3 separate regions of the Homo sapiens genome follow, and all the other regions are linked to region 1. Evidence: promoter capture Hi-C in 16 types of primary human blood cells and fetal thymus (Javierre and others, 2016). All regions are on one chromosome and are shown on one strand. Each heading gives the region's core, a stretch centred on a gene start or on the middle of the fragment in contact. The rest is flanking DNA. Distances are from core to core; before and after follow the strand shown.

What was found. Contacts are between HindIII fragments. The CHiCAGO score rates a contact against its expected background, and 5 or more counts as called.
Region 2: a fragment that was not itself captured here is called in contact with the fragment with the promoter of ASIC4 in region 1 in 1 of 17 cell types (neutrophils); the score reaches 6.1 in neutrophils.
Region 3: a fragment that was not itself captured here is called in contact with the fragment with the promoter of ASIC4 in region 1 in 1 of 17 cell types (M0 macrophages); the score reaches 5.1 in M0 macrophages.

What each region holds. Positions count from the first base shown.
Region 1 is chr2:219,512,880-219,516,330 of GRCh38, forward strand. ASIC4 (acid sensing ion channel subunit family member 4) reads left to right here and starts at 1,603. Exons shown (of 10, transcript NM_018674.6): 1 at 1,603-2,427. The coding sequence starts at 1,846. All of the region lies in intron 1 of ASIC4-AS1 (ASIC4 antisense RNA 1), which reads right to left. RefSeq lists an enhancer at 1-241 and a silencer at 1,526-1,701. The HindIII fragment of the contact is 12,103 bases long and covers 1-3,451 here.
Region 2 is chr2:219,361,581-219,365,031 of GRCh38, forward strand. It overlaps LOC105373883 (a long non-coding RNA gene), which reads right to left. Exons shown (of 2, transcript XR_923917.3): 2 at 922-1,228. Among named protein-coding and RNA genes, the nearest start is that of DNPEP, 25 kb to the right of the region's middle. RefSeq lists an enhancer at 983-1,032. The HindIII fragment of the contact is 1,677 bases long and covers 919-2,595 here.
Region 3 is chr2:219,654,525-219,657,975 of GRCh38, forward strand. No RefSeq gene overlaps it. Among named protein-coding and RNA genes, the nearest start is that of SLC4A3, 29 kb to the left of the region's middle. The HindIII fragment of the contact is 1,550 bases long and covers 829-2,378 here.

The DNA.
Region 1 (3,451 bases), core at 353-2,852:
AGGGCTGGGTGTGTGGGCAGGCTCCATGCTGGGGTGACCCTGATGGGGCCTGACCTGGCCTTGCAGCCAGGGTGGGCAAAGTGGCTTCCAGCTGCTAAGGGAGCCATCCCTAGGCCCCTCCCCTGGGGCCAGGCAGAGGCTGCGGGGCCAGGCCTGACGCAGGGGGCGGGGTGGCCGTTGGGCAGCGGGTGGACCTCGGGCTCTAATCCCCAGCAGCTGCCGTTTCCCTCAGATCGATTCCTTTCTCACTTTTTTTCTCAGCTGCTGGTTCTGCGGCTTGGATCGATGGAGCCACCTCCCCCCGCCCGTCCACGCTTCCTCTCCCTGCTGCTCATTAGCGCCCCGATTAATCAGCCCCCCTTTCCTCCCGGGGACAAGGGCTTCCTCCCCCGTGAGGGCACATGCTGTCGGATGGGGCCCCAGAGCACAAGCACTGATTCTTGCCACCCCCACCCTGGGGGCATGGATGCATCCCCTCCTGGCCAGTCAACTGAGGCTCCCACCCCCACCTATGATGATGGCCCACATGCCTGTTCCCCTCCACGAGAACACAGCAGACCCCTTAGGGCTCTCCTGCCCCACTCTGCCAGGCACCCCTCAAACCCCTTTCTTTAGGAGAGCATTCGCTCCCATTGACGCCCAGCACATCTTCCTGCTCCCTTCCACGCCCCCACTGGGGCTCTTCCTCTCCCTCCATTGCATGCCCTGTCCCCCTACATATAGAGCACCCCGGAAGCACACCTCCCCTTTGCTCCCTGGCTTGCTTACCCAACAGCCCTCCCCCGAAGCCTGGTTGTGGCAAGGGATTTGGGGAACATTTGGGGAAGCAAAGTGGCCACAGATATGCAAGCTGGCCAGGGTGCTGTCTGTCCCAGACATATGAATGACTGAGATTGGGGTTGGGGGCAAAATGAGGGTGAGGGCAGCCAGCCTCCCAGAGGGGGCAGGGGCATGGTGGGTGTTGAAGTCTGGAGCAAAGCTCCAGGGAAGCTGAGAATCTTGAAGTCACAGTTGTCCCCTGGTCTGTCTAGCCTGCCCTCCTCTGCCCCCCTCCCTCCGTCATTCAAACAAGTGGCTCTCTCAAGGAGTTTCTGGAAGCTGCTGTGAGTCGGGTAGTGGGATCAGGTGGTGGCTGGGTGCTGGAGTCAGGAGTCTCAGAGGCCAGGAGGTGGGGGGATAGAGTTGGCTGACCCTTCATGGGGTGTGGGCCAGGAAAGTGGCAAAGAATGAGCTGAGGACCCTGGGCACGGCACCCTTCCCTGGGTGGCCAGGAAGTGGGGAGATCTGGGGACCCAGTGAGCGGCTAGGGTGCAGCAGGAGTTTGGGGGATAGCCCCAGTCTTGGGATCTCTGTCCTGGGCTGGGGACTGCCCCCTCCCCTGGCCTGGCTCCTGACGCCCGTGCTGCCGGTGAAACGCTGTTGACATGTCCTGAATTATTAAGCGTGGGGAGGGCTCCGGAGCACATGCTGAGCGGAGCGGCTGGGGCTGCGCGGCGTGGCGGAGCAGCGCTCGCTCCCTCGCTCACTCGCTCGCTCGCAGGGACACACGCAGGGGCTGACAGCTGTGCTGGTGCTGATAAGGGAAGCCACAAGGAGACGATCGAGGAGAGAGACAAGCGGCAGCAGAGGCAGCAGCGGCAGAGGCAGCACCAGGGCTGCGGAGCTGCTGGGAGTGGGAGTGACTCCCCCACCTCGGGCCCCCACCCTGTCCCTGTCCTCTTCCCGCTTGCCCTGAGTTTAGAAGAGCAGCCGCTGCCACCACTGCCACTCGGGAGGGCACCAGGGCTGCTGGCTAGGGAGGGACAGGGCAGGGAGGCTCTGGCCAGTCCCAGCAGCCGGGGACAGATGCCGATCGAGATTGTGTGCAAAATCAAATTTGCTGAGGAGGATGCGAAACCCAAGGAGAAGGAGGCAGGGGATGAGCAGAGCCTCCTCGGGGCTGTTGCCCCTGGAGCAGCCCCCCGAGACCTGGCCACCTTTGCCAGCACCAGCACCCTGCATGGACTGGGCCGGGCCTGTGGCCCAGGCCCCCACGGACTGCGCAGAACCCTGTGGGCACTGGCCCTACTCACCTCGCTGGCTGCCTTCCTGTACCAGGCGGCTGGCCTGGCCCGGGGCTACCTGACCCGGCCTCACCTGGTGGCAATGGACCCCGCTGCCCCAGCCCCAGTGGCGGGCTTCCCGGCTGTCACCCTCTGCAATATCAACCGCTTCCGGCATTCGGCACTCAGCGATGCCGACATCTTCCACCTGGCCAATCTGACAGGGCTGCCCCCCAAAGACCGGGATGGGCACCGTGCGGCTGGCCTGCGCTACCCAGAGCCTGACATGGTAGACATCCTCAACCGCACTGGCCACCAGCTCGCCGACATGCTTAAGAGCTGCAACTTCAGTGGGCATCACTGCTCCGCCAGCAACTTCTCTGTGGTGAGTTCTGCCAGCTGGGCTGCCTGGCCTTGGATGGCCGGAGGCTGGGGAGTGGGGAGGAGTGGTGGCAGTGGTGTACAGGGGCATCCTCAACAGGGCTTCCCTTCATTCCACCACCAGAGGCTGGCCTCGTGTTTCCCCAAGCCTGGCGTCTCCCTCTGGCTTCCCAGCCATGGAGCAGTGGCCGCTCATAGGGGCTTACCCTGGGGCGCCTGCTGCTCCTCTTCTTGGTTTTGCTGCTGCTGCAGTGCCCAGGTCTGGGAGTTGGGGTGGGGGTTCCTAGGCATGGGCCCAGGTGTCCTGGAGCTGGCTGGCTTGCAGGGAACGCACGCACCATCCCAAGGCCAGACCAACTGACTCTCACTTTTCTCTTGCTCCCTTTTTCTTCTGAGGCTACTGGATTCTTCCCACCAAACGAAGGAGATAGGGAGGGGAGGTTTGGGGGGCTCCATCTAGGGAAGGACCCCGGGTGGCCTCCTGGGGAGCTGGCCTGGTGGGCAGGCTGGAGAGACCCGGTCTTCAGGACACTGGGTGCCAGTGTCTCTTCTGGATCTCTGTGTGTCTCTCACATGCCTGCCTCACAGACTCCCTCACACATCCCTCTTTCATTCTGCCCTCCAGCCCTCCTGGGGTCCAGTCCCCCTCTGTCTCCTGTTCTAGCGGCTCCCATGCCCAGCTCTGGCTCTTACACTGGGAATCACTGGTTCACTCTTATGTGCATAACTCACCCTCACTGCTGCCCCAGCACGGGTGCATGCACACATGCACACGCACACACGCACACGCACTGCTGGGGGACACAGTTTCCTGCACACTCCCTCTCTCACTCACTGTCCCTGTCACTACACTCACATGCACACCTGCACACCCACACCCAGAGAGCTACTCATCTCCATGTCTAGCTCCCAGCTCTCGCTTAGCTGCCAAGGACAGGGTCCCACTGTGGATGCCATCCCTTCTCATGACACCCCCACCCCCATCTATCCCAACCGCTGCTCCCCATTTGGAGACTGCTGGCGCCATC
Region 2 (3,451 bases), core at 507-3,006, 150 kb before region 1:
ACAAAGGCTGCCCACCTTGATAGGGAGAGGGTGGGCCACCATGCCTGTGCCTCTTCTTGGATAGCCAGTGGGGATGGTGCTATCATTGCACTGAGGCCTGCAAGACTCAGGCCACCACCCTTTGTCGGGAAACAAGGTCTTCCCTCAAGGACAGGATCACCTCTGGTGGGAATCTCCTAGAGAAGAGGCAGCTCCTCAGGCCAGGCACGGTGGCTCACGCCTGTAATCCCAGCACTTTGGGAGGCCGAGGCGGGTAGATCACAAGGTCAGGAGTTCAAGACCAGCCTGGCCAACATGGTGAAACCCCGTCTCTACTAAAAGTACAAAAATTAGCTGGCCATGGTGGCATGTGCCTGTAGTCCCAGCTACTCTGGAGGCTGAGGCAGAAGAATTGCTTGAACCCGGGAGGCAGAGGTTGCAGTGAGCAGAGATTGTGCCACTGCATTCCAGCCTGGGTGACAGAGCAAAACTCCATCTCAAAAAAAAAAAAAAAAAGAGAGAGAAGAGGCAGCTCCTCCGAGATGGGTCAGAGCTCTATGGGGAGCCCCAGGTGGGCATCTAGATGGTGAAGAGCCCAAAGACTCTAGAAGTGGGTTCTCGGGACTTGCGCATGCGTACATGTGTTTATATGTGTATACATGTGTTTATATGTTTGTGCATGGGTGTTGTGTCCATGTGTTTATATGTGTGTGCATGTGTTTGTATGAATCAATGTGTACTGTATGCATGTGTGTTTGTGTGTGCGTATGTAGGTTTGTATGTGTGGGAGATGTATTTGTGTATGTAGATGGGATGTGTGTGTCAATGTGTATATGTGTACATGTAGTGTACTTGTATTCATTGTCTATTACTTTTTTTAAAAATCCAGTTTTAGCAAAGAATATCTATGGCTTATTGCTACATGACAAATTACCCCAAAGCTTAGTCGCTTAAACTATAAACATCTATTTCACAGTTTCTGTGGACTGGGAATCTGAGAGAGGCTTAGCTGGGTATTTTTGGTTCAGGGTCTCTCTTGAAGTTGCAGTGAAGATGTTACTCAGGGTTGGCTGTAGTCTTCTGAAGGCTTGCGTGGGGCTAGAGGATCCACTTTCAAGATGACTCACCCTCCTGGCAAGACGATGCTGGCTGTTGGCAGGAGGTCTCAGTTCCCTACCACATCAGCCTCTCCATATGGCTGCTTGAGTGCCTCATGACACAGCAGCTGGCTTCCTCTGGAGTGAGTGACCTGAGAGAGAGAGAGAACCAGGCAAAAGCCACAGTGTTTTTAAAACCTAGCTTTGGAAGTCCCATGCCATCATTTCTGCCATATTATACTGGCCACAGAGACCAACCCTGATACACTGTGGGAGGGACTACACAAAGGCATGAATTCCAAGAGGTAAGGATCACTGGAGGTCATCTTGTAGGATGGCTATCACATGCAGTATGTGCGTGTGGGTATGTGGGGTGTGTGTTTGTGGGTGTGTACATAAAGATGTGTGTGTTTGTGTATATATGTGTATGTTTTTGCATATGTATATATGGATATATAGCAATATGTTTGTGTGACATGTATCTATGTATTGTCTGCATATGTGTATGCATGCATTTATGTATATGTATCTGTGTATTGCACATGTGTGTTTTTTGCGCACGAGTATGCATGCATGTATTATGCCTACATGCATGTCTCTGTGTTTGTATGTTGTGCATGTGTGCATATATGTGTATGCCTTTTTGTATGTATTTGTAGTATGTGAATGAGCATATGTATGCATGTGTGATGGGTTTGTATATGTATCCAGGTGTATATGTGTGTCTATGCCTGTGGCTGTATATGTTTGCAAACATTGTATGTGCATGTGCACCTGTGTTGTGTGTGTGCATGTATGCTTACATGTGTGTGTTTCTGTATAGATGTCCATGTGTAAGTCCGCATGTGTCTGTTTATGTGTGTGTAGGTGTATATATGTTACGTTTATGTATGTGTGTGAGGTGTATGTGTGTAGGTTTGAGAATATGTGTGTGCATTACTATGTACATATTGCACTTGTATATATAAATGTGTGCTGGCACATGCATACAAACTTAGGAATGTCACCTGCTGTGGGAGGAAAGCCTGGAGTCAGGAGTGGGGAGACTCAGGGAGGAGTCCCTATTATTCCTGGGGTAGCCCATGAGTGGAAGGCTCTGGAGCCTGGAGAGCAGGCTCTCCCTTGCATTTAGGATATGTGGATCCATGGTCCTCTGCATCTGGCTTTCCTTTGTCAAGGCTTTCTGTTGTTGTTCATTTTTGTTTGAACATTTCAGTCTTTCCTAAGCTGTCAAATAAAGCAGCAGAGAAAGGGTGGTCTCTATTGCCTGGAAGTTGAGAGTTCAGTGTAGACTAGTGCCCCTTTGGGGCTGGCCTGGGGAAAACAAGGGGATTTCCCTGGAGAGCACGGCTGACCCTCCCTCTCATCTCTTCTCGCCTAGGGCCACTCTGGGAGCTTCTGGAGTTTATTGGGCAAGAAGGGAGGGCATTTCTTTACTTCTAATAATCCAGTCATCTTAGGAGCCACTCTTTTCCTCTTTCCATTTAGAATATTTCTGACACCAACTTTTGTGTTTAGAAGCTTTTATGCTTTTTTTTAAAAAAAGTATTTTTACCTTTTGATTATGAAAGGTAATACATATGAACAGAAGTAGACAGAATGTAAAGATACAGCTCAACAGATTTTCAGAGTGAATAGCCATTTATACTATCCAATAAGAGGGTTCAGGACATGCCACCCAGAAACATGGCACACTGGCATGTTGAATATTTTAAGCTGGAAGGATCTGAGAAACAGCATGTGCAGGACAATCTCTCTGACTTCCCTGATCCTTCTCTCCTGAAGGGATCTCCCTGATCCTTTCCCCATGTGAAAGGTGTCCTTCCTCCAAAGATGGGGACACAGACAGGAATCTGAACACATGGGCCTTGTTAAGTCTTTTGGGTAAATAAAATTAGTTTTAAGATTGTTGGCAGGCTGGGCGCAGTGGCTCACACCCCTAATCCCAGTGCTTTGGGAGGCTGAGACAGGAGCATTACTTGCGCCCAGGAGTTTGAAACCAGCTTGGACAACATACTGAGACTTGGTCTTTACAAAAAGTTTAAAAAGTAGGCCGGGCTTAGGGGCTCACGCCTGTAATCCCCGCACTTTGGGAGGCCGAGGTGGGTGGATCACTTGAGGTCAGGAGTTCAAGATAAGCCTGGCCAACATGGTGAAACCCCGCCTCTACTAAAAATACAAAAAATTAGACTGGCGTGGTGGCAGGCGCCTGTAATCCCAGCTAGTTGGGAGGCTGAGGCAGGTGAATCCCTTGAGCTTAGAAGTTCAAGGCTGCAGTGAGCTGTGTTCACACCACTGCAATCCAGTCTGGGCAGCAGAGTGAGACCTTGTTTATATAGATTAAAAAAAAAAAAAGCCAGGTACAGTGGCTCACG
Region 3 (3,451 bases), core at 354-2,853, 140 kb after region 1:
CAGATAACATAACTGTCTACATAGAAAATCCTAAGACATCTATAAAAATGAAAACAAAACAAAAAAACTTTTGGAACAAGTGATTTAGTTCAACAAGAATCATAGGATACAAGATAAATATACAAAAATCCATTGCATTTCTATATATTAGCAGTAAACACATGTATACCAAAATTAACAGTACAATACCATATGCAGCCCACTCAAAAGTGAAATACTTTTTTATAAATCTAATAAAAATTTACAGAATCTACATGCTGAAAACTTCTGTATTAGTCTATTTTGTGTTGCTATAAAGAAATACCTGAAACTGGATAATTTATAAAGAAAAGAGGTTTGTTTGGCTCATGATGCTGCAGGCTGTGCAACAAGCATGTGCCAGCATCTGCTTCTGGTGAAGCCCTCAGGAACCTTACAATCATAGTGGAAGGGAAGGGAGGAGCAGGCGTGTCATAAGGTGATAGAGAAAGCAAGGGGGTGGGGAGGTGCCACACTGTTTAAAAACCAGATCTTGTGGTAACTAATAAAGTGAGAACTCACTCATTACCATGAGGATGGCACCAACCCATTCTTGAGGTATCCACCCCCAGGACCCAAACACCTCCCACTAATCCCCACCTCTAACGTTGAGGTGACATGAGATTTGAAGAGGACAAATATCCAAACTATATTAACTACTCAAGGTTGATGAAAGAAATCAATGAAGATCTAAATAAATGGAGAGACATACTACGTTCCTGGATTGGAAGATTCAGCATTGTAAAGTTGTCAATTTGTCCTAAACTAATATATATAGGTTTAATGCAATTTTTATTGAAATCTAAGCAAAGCTTTTTTGTAGATATAGACAAAATTATTTTAGAATTTATATGGAAAGGCATAGAAACCAGAATAGCTAAAATAATTTTGTAAAAGGAGAATAAAGTGGGATGAATCAGTTTACCTGATTTTAAGACTTATTATATAGTTACAGTAATCAAGACTGTGTGGTATTGGTGGAGGGATAGTTGCAAAGACTGATAGAACAGAATTTAAAAACCTAGAAATAGACCAACATAAATATACCCAACCAATTTTTGACAAAAGGTGCAAAAGTAATTCATTGAAGAAAAAATACCCTTTTCAACAAATGGTGATGGAGCAAAAGGACATCCATTGGCAAACACAAACAAACAAAACTCTGATATAAATCTCATACCTTATGCAATAATTAACTCAAAATAGATCATAGAATTAAATGTAAAACTTGAAACTATAAACATTTTTAGAAGAAAACAGGAGAACATCTTTGGGTTTAGGGTTAGGCAAAGAGTTCTTTGACTTGACAACAAAAGCATAAAAGGAAAGAAAAAATTGATTAAATAGACTTCACTAAAATTTTAAAATTTTATGCTGCAAAAGACCTTGTTAAGAGGATGAAAAAACAAAGTACAGAGTGGGAGAAAATATTTGCAAACCACATATCTAATAAAGGACTAGTGTCTTGACTATATAAAGAATTCCTCAGGGCCAGGCATGGTGGCTCATGCCTGTAATCCCAGCACTTTGGGAGGCTGAGGCGGGTGGATCACGTGGTCAGGAGATCGAGATCATCCTGACTCACACAGTGAAACCCCATCTCTACTAAAAATACAAAAATTAGCCAGGTGTGGTGGCATGTGCCTGTAATCCTAGCTACTCGGGAGGCTGAGGCAGGAGAATCGTTTGAATCCGGGAGGCAGAGGTTGCAGTGAGCCAAGATCATGCCACTGCACTCCAGCCTGGGTAACAGAGCAAGAGTCTGTCTCAAAAAAAAAAAAAAAAAAAAAAAAAAAAAAAAAAAAAAAAAAAAATTCCTCAATCTCAACATCAAAAAACCAAACCATCCACTTAAAAAATGGGCAAAAGACATGAAGAAAAATTTTACTGAAGAGAATATGCAGATGGCAAATAAGCACATGAGAAGGTGTTCAATCTTATTAGCTATTAGGGAAATGCAAATTAAAACCATAATGAGGTATCACCATACACCTATCAGGATGTGAGAGAGAGAAAGAGAGAGAGACAGAGAGAGACAGAGAAACATGAAAAATAGTGATATCATCAAATGCTGGCCAGGATGTGGAGAAACTGGATTACTCATACATTACCAGTGGAAAGGTAAAATGGGACAACCACTCTGGAAAACAGTTTGGCAGTTTCTTAAAAACCTAAACATACAACTACCATATGACTCAGCAATTGCACTCTTGGGCATTTATCACAAAGAAAGGAAGACTTATATTCACACAATAAACTAAACAAATGTTTATAGCAGTTTTATTTGCAATAGCCAAAAACTGAGACAATGCAGATGTCCTTTAATGGGTGAATGGTGAATGGTGCAGTGATAAAGAATAAGCTTTTGACGCACACAACACAGTAAACTGTGTATCTCCAGAGAATAGCACTGAGTTGAAAAAGCCATTCTCAAAAGGCTACACAATGTATGATTCCATTTATACAATATTCTTACAGTGACAGTGTTGCAGAAATAGAGAACGGGTTAGTGGTTTCCAGAGGTTAGGGAGGGGACAGCTACAAAAAGGCAACTTGGGGGACCATTATTGTGATTGAAATGTTCTCTAATTTTGCCCCGTCCATGTCAATATTTTGGTTGTGACACTAATCTTAAAATAAAATGTATAATTAAAAAATAAATACATTATATTCAAACACAGGTAAATACATTATATTAAAAATAAAGGTACTAAACACTCAAAATTCATGACTTCCCAATTATTTTGTTACTTTTACTATTGTCTATATTCTGGAAGTTATTTATGTCTGTTATATCTGTATGGTGGAAATATTCTATAGTGATGTGCTATGGCACATTTCTTCCCAATTCTGCATTCAGTGATGTCACACTAATAGTTTGAAATTGGCCATTGTGGGAGTATTTACACCAGAGAAATCAGCAGACACTACAAATTAGGTCCTCCCCTCCTTTTTTTCGTAGATGGTTGTTAAACTTTTACCGGGACTGCTTTTAAGTTAGGGAATTTCTCATGCATAGGAAGTGGGTTTAGATGCTGGATGACTCCACCTCCCAAATAGCAAATGTCAATCAAAAAATGGATAATGTCTCAGATCAGTTATAGAGGAGGAAGAAGCTGGCTCTTCCTAAGGCTATTTCCTCTCTACCTCATTGCTTCCCTCATTTTATAAAAGGCTGTTGTGGACTGTGGTTGAAGCAGATGCTGGAGGAATGGAATCCTGGCTGTTTATAATCTCATTTCTTTAATATCCAGCATAGAGATGGCAGGATGGTAAAACTACAAAAAAATGGAGTTTTATGAATGCTCAGATCTCTTTTACACTTTTCCCTAGGCACTGCTGTTTCTAATCTTTCTCCATCAAAGTCAAATCCTTTTGTTAGCATTTTGATCTAGGGACCATGTAGCTAGTTATCAGCTTTGCTCTTCTGCAA